Regions from separate parts of the Homo sapiens genome. Here region 1 is linked to region 2. Evidence: promoter capture Hi-C in 16 types of primary human blood cells and fetal thymus (Javierre and others, 2016). All regions are on one chromosome and are shown on one strand. The core of a region is centred on a gene start or on the middle of the fragment in contact, and the rest is flanking DNA. Distances in the headings are between cores, read along the strand shown.

What was found. Contacts are between HindIII fragments. The CHiCAGO score rates a contact against its expected background, and 5 or more counts as called.
Region 1: a fragment that was not itself captured here is called in contact with the fragment with the promoter of CPA4 in region 2 in 1 of 17 cell types (erythroblasts); the score reaches 5.5 in erythroblasts.

The regions. Positions count from the first base shown.
Region 1 is chr7:130,852,433-130,855,317 of GRCh38, reverse strand. It overlaps LOC105375508 (a long non-coding RNA gene), which reads right to left. Exons shown (of 4, transcript XR_927978.3): 4 at 1,367-1,595. Among named protein-coding and RNA genes, the nearest start is that of MIR29A, 23 kb to the left of the region's middle. RefSeq lists an enhancer at 1,098-2,297. The HindIII fragment of the contact is 6,604 bases long and covers 1-2,885 here.
Region 2 is chr7:130,291,310-130,294,410 of GRCh38, reverse strand. CPA4 (carboxypeptidase A4) reads right to left here and starts at 1,250. Exons shown (of 11, transcript NM_016352.4): 1 at 1,163-1,250. The coding sequence starts at 1,230. RefSeq lists an enhancer at 756-845. The HindIII fragment of the contact is 9,413 bases long and covers 740-3,101 here.

The DNA.
Region 1 (2,885 bases), core at 244-2,743, 560 kb before region 2:
TCTGTGAAATGGAGAGAGCCACTGTATCTCTTAGCTGTGTTAATCCAAATATCTGAGTGATCGTCCAAGACAAGGAAAGAATCTGACTACAAGGGCCCTGGAGGAAGACCCCTGGCCCCAGAATCATTTCTCTGCCTCCACCTCTCGATGGCCCTTCTAAGAGAAAAGATACATTTATGGAAGTACAGACTGATTCAGAAAGTGGGGGACATAGTGGAAGGGAGCTAACATCTGCTGAGTCCCCCGTGTGTCAGGTATGAAATGCAAACTCTCATTTTACCCTCACAGCAACTCAATGAAGGTGAGAATGTCTAGCTCCCTTTCCTAAGTACATGTACACAAACGTGGAGGCAATGCACAGTGTTGAGGTGTGCACTGCTTCCACGAAGTTGAGGAAGACCATTCTTGTTAATAATCAAGTACTTGCCCCATGTGACAAAATACATGCTTTCCTAAAGAAGTACATGAAGTTAAGTCACAGATGAAATCCTACTAATCTGCAGTTTGCATTTAAGCACTCAGTAATTCCAGGCATGGTGCTAAGCACTTTACCTAATCTCACTCAATCTTCACAACAAACTCTGCAAAACACATATATTATTATCCCCATTTTTCAGGTTAAGATATGGAGATTTGCCGAGGCTGAGTAATACAGTCAGGGTTGCACAACTACTAAGTGGCAGAGTCAGGATTTGAACTCATCTCTGCCTGACTTCCAAGGATCTCTGGGTCCTCAGACATAAGGAAAATCACAATGGAGAAAATACTTGTTATATATTGTAAGGAAAATATTATTTCCTAATAAAAATAAAAGGAGTCAAAATTACTGAAGTTGAACATCCCATCAAAGTTTCTCTGTCACCCTACAAGGTAGAGAGCAGTGGGAAAAAAAGGGACAGTCAGCTTTAAGTTTTGTTCCTTGATTTGCTGCCATGCTCCTTCAGGATAAGAACTCCTGTGGAATAGATCAGACTTGGATATGGAATTTAAATAGATAGTTCAAGTTTTTTTTCCCTCTAATTTCAGGCTTAGAATCTAGCAAAGTTAGAAGGGAAATCCTTCCACTGGGTATGTAAAATGTTAAACAAGCCCCTGAGAGTAGATGACTCTTTGCTTCTCTGACCTATACTAGAATAATATATAAAATGGAAACTGCAATAAATGAATAAAACCAAATGACACAGACACACATCTGCACACCCACTGTCTGTGTCCGAATGCTGATACACTGCAGGTACAGTACAGTGACAGGGTGTTCCTGGGAAGCCGATCAATGATTCCCTTCCACAGTTCAGGCTTTATTACAGGAGGTATTCATTAGCTAATTACAATTAGTCGAGTACCTTGGTGTGCCTTCTTCAAGAACTCCTTTAAATGCTCCTCTTTTATTCTATTTTCAAGTTCCAAAAGCAGATGCTTCTTTTATGGAAAAGCCTAATTGCTGTGGAATCTAATGCATGTCCTACTTCCATATCCAAATCTCCTCCTTCCTGTTTAATGGACAGCATTCTCATGACTCACCTTTGATTTATGGGCTGGAAGGCACCACACCTTTTTTCGGTCCTGCCTGCACATATTGTTAAGTGTGATCAACTCTGGAAAAAAGCATTCATGAGTTATGTCAATAATATGAGACACTAAAAGAGACTTGTCCTACAAACAAAACAGTAAATGACAAATCCAAGTTGTTTTAGTCCCATGTGCTTCTCTACCGCACCCTAGAGCCTATAATGATTCCGTTTTCTTCATATTTGTGGCACAAGGAATGCCTGAAAACTCATCCTTAGGTAACATGCGCCTCATTAGTATTTGTTCATTCTAACATTTTAAATTCTTTTGAATTGGCAAAAAGGAACAAAGAGAAGTGAAATTTAGATACCTAATAGATAGTGGAAAATAACAAAACAGCAGCCTATAAATCAATGGAATGTGGCGACTGTGTGTTCTGTGGTGGTGGTTCTTGTTCTGGATGGTATATATCTCTGAATAATTTCCCAGTATTCACCCAATTTGATGCTACTATGAAAAAATTATGTCTCTAAAATCCACATTCCAAATAACTCTTGTTGCAGATAATTCCCTTCTTCCCTTTTCCCATCCTAACAGAATACAATTTTGTTCAGAGGACGACGGAAAATATATCCCATTAAATACTTGCCTAACACACTGAGTGGCCTGTGACACAGGTCTGGTTAGTGATGCTGACAAAAGGCTTCTAGGTATTTATGTGAAAGCTCTTGTGTTTCTACTCAAGCACTGCTCCTTCCGCCTTGAGCGCTGATGTGAAGCCTAGAGCTGCGGCAGCCATCTTGCAACCGTGAGATGAGGAGCGTGAGAATTACAGCCTACAGCTAAGGGTGGCAGAGAAGAATGGCAGGAGCCTGGGTCCAGGATGGCACCACTGCCTCCTTTACTAGCTTCAGACTTCTTATTGCTTGAAATAAATGCCCATCACAATTGTTTAAGTCACTGCTGCTATGGTTCTTTGATGCTTGCAGGTAAAGGCTACAATAACTAATACAGGCTTACAGACACCTTAGCTTCTGTTTCTAAATTCCCAAATTAAAGCTATACATTTCTTTTAAATTCAGAAAGAAGCTAAGTAGCCGTGTTGCCCTTATTTGGGGTCTGGCATTGACACTCCACAACAGCCTCTTGCATTCATTACAATCAACTAGAGACAGACAAATACTGGAGTTAAATGGGGGAAAAAAAGAAATTATAAGCGTATAGGTAATTATGAATAGTTACTGGATCTCACAGTGAGGGACAACTATGTATAAAATCAATGGAATTATAACCTTTAGATGGGCAAAAACCAAGTCTGATGAGACCAAGTATTGCCAAGGTTGTGGGGAAATAAGATCTCTCACATACTGCTTGTG
Region 2 (3,101 bases), core at 1-2,500:
AGACACAGGTGTGAACAGAAGTCATCATCATAAAACTTAGTCAATCTCATATAAGTAATTACCTCAAAAAACAACCCCAAAGTCTCATTAGCCAGATAGTAAAATAGAAAGAAAACTAAGAGACAGATCCAAGAGATATAGGATTTTATTTGGAGATGAACTTGTGTTATAGCAAAAGGGTACGAGTTTTACGTTCAGAGTTCCAGCTCCCCTGCTTCCCAGCTAAGTGGCCTTGAGCGCGTTCCTTAACATTCTAAGGCTGATTTTTTTCATGTTTAAGTGGAAGAAAATAACACCCCTGCCTGGCAAAGTTGTTGTGTGATCAAAAAGATAATGTACATGAAAGCTCTTTGCAAATGGTAAAGTATTATGCAGTAATGAGTTATTATAATTCAGTCTTCTAACAGGGCACCATGGTATCCCTTTTATCTCTCCTACCACCCAAATGTCCTCTCCCCTGCAAACCTCAAAGTATTCTGCATGGAGCGTGTTGAGCACGTGTGTGTGTGCACACACACACGCGCACACACACACGGTGTTCAGGCATGTGTCTCTGCATGTCATTTTCATAGCTGTGTCTAGGCAAGACCTGTGAAATCTCCACGTCCCAGAAGCCAGTAAGAAAGCACCAGCTCAGAAGAGGGTGTAGCTCAGGGGTAGAGCATTAAACTGCAGATCAAGAGAAGGCACCAGCTCTGCAAAGCCTTCGCCATTAACAAAGAAGTGAAACCAACAAGCTTGAGACCCAGGGTTTCCCTTTATGCATGGCGGAAATTGGAAACAAACCATTTCTGGTAACCAGTAACTCTTAGTAATTAATAACGTAGCTCTTAGTAACCAGTAACTCTTAGTAATTAATAAGGTAGGAGTAAGAAAGTAGATGCCTGGAACTGACCTTATAAGTAAGAACTAGGCAGAAAAAGAACTGGCAGGAGATGAGGGAGCTGGGGAGAGACTGCAATGATCATCTAGTCCTGATTTCACAGATGAAATGGGGTCTCAGAGAAGAGAGTGGACTTGTCCAGGATGACACAGGGGCAAAGCTGGAACAAGAGCCCAGGTCTTCTTCCTCCATGTGAGCTATTATCAGCCATTCATTTTCAGTTCCATTTGGCTCCCATATTTCTGAAATAACCAAATAATAAGTCCAAAAGGAACTTACCCAAAAAATTTTTCTTGGCCACAGATGCTGGACCCAATAAGGGCCCCAATGAACAGTATCCACCTCATGTCCCCGGGGAGTCAGTCATACAGTGGCTGAGTCAAGCTGTATTTATAAAGAGTCTGAGAGTGACTCAAGTCCTCAAAAATGCTAATGTGATTCCCAAGCACCCTTGCAACTCTGACTGTGACAGGCAGGCCCTACCAATGCCTCTCCCATTCCTTTCAAGTGATAAAGGTTGAGCATCTCAATTTACAAGGTCAGGAACTTGCTCCAGGAGCTGAAAAAGTCTGTGCCAAGGGTACCATATTGCTCATCACTTGGCATTTAAATAGTGTTTTTTCAGTGAATAAGCTAATTCCACAGTGTTGGATGGAATTTATCCTGATAGGAGAGGTCAGATTATAAACCTGGCATAGAATTACCTCTAGAATAATAATAAAAAAGTTAAGACTATCAAAGCAAGACTGAGCTGGCTCCAAGACCACATGCTTGACAAGCCCTGCCAGAGAATTTCACCAGGGCAGGTCAGGATGAGGAAAGAGGTTTGGGGCCTCTTTTATGTATCTGAAGCCTAATTCTTCTGACTCCACTAAGGAAATAGAAATGTATCAGGCAAATGATATAGAAAGGATGTTTTAGTCTGAATAAATTATCAGTGTTCCTTGGGGTCTGATCTATGGGGAAGGCTTAATGGTTTTATCAATAATAAGATTTTCAGCCGGGCGAGGTGGCTCATGCCTGTAATCCTAGCACTTTGGGAGGCCGAGGTGGGCGGATCACGAGGTCAGGAGATTGAGACCATCCTGGCTATCACAGTGAAACCTCGTCTCTACTAAAAATACAAAAAATTAGCCGGGCGTGGTGGCGGACGCCTGTAGTCCCAGCTACTCAGGAGAATGGCGTGAACCTGGGAGGCGGAGCTTGCAGTGAGCCGAGATCGCACCACTGCACTCCAGCCTGGGCGACAGAGTGAGACTCCATCTCAAATAAATAAATAAATAAATAATAAGATTTTCTTATACTTCCTAGACTGTGGGTCTGGTGTCCTTTCCGCCAAGTCACAGCTGAATAAATGGAAGACACTCATATCTCCATAACGCCTTCAGGGGCTCTGGGACCTTTGAGTCTGTCCTGGGAGCCCCAGTTCCCACAGCCTTTCCCATCCCACCCTCCCTACGGTCTACATGCTTTCCACACCCACTCAAAGGGAGTGGACACAACCAAGGGTCATAGTTGAGAGAGTTAAAGAAAAACTATCCTGACCTGTGTTAAAATGTAAGACCTAATTCAAGATTATTATGATTAGGACCATGGCTATTTCAGTAGGAAAGACTTACTGTGCTTAACACTGAATACGGCAAAGAAAACAGAGAGGATCAGTGGGATTACTAAGAGAAGACATCAAGGTAGGGGGATTCTTGCTAAAAGCAGGCCAAGGACTTATACATCAAAGTCCCCATCAAAGGTGGGGATGAGGAACTTGATCAGATATCAAGGTGGGAGGGATGACTTCGCAGGATCTTTGCTCAGGCTGGCTTAGCCAGGGCTCAAGAACCAGCCTAATCAAAAGGAGGGTGCAGAATCTCAAGTGTGGTCCCAGAGAGAGCCTTTGTTAGGAGCTGTGGAGCTAGGGGCCATCATCTCCTCTTGCTCCCTCAGGGTCCTTTTGTCCTCTCAACACTTCAACTGAATTCCTACACCCACCCTGTCCACCACAAAGCGTGGGCTCAGCGTCACTGAGATCGATGTCAGCTTTGAAGTCAGCAACAAGAACAACTGAGACCCAAATCTGTAAGAGATGTGAAGTGGGAGAATCAAGGACCAAGCATTCTAGGCAAGCTGAAATTTAGTTCCTACCTTTTCTCCCAGGGAAAATCATCCACATGAAGAAAACCTAAATCCCTAATGGGAGTCAATATCTAAAGAGAAACTGTGT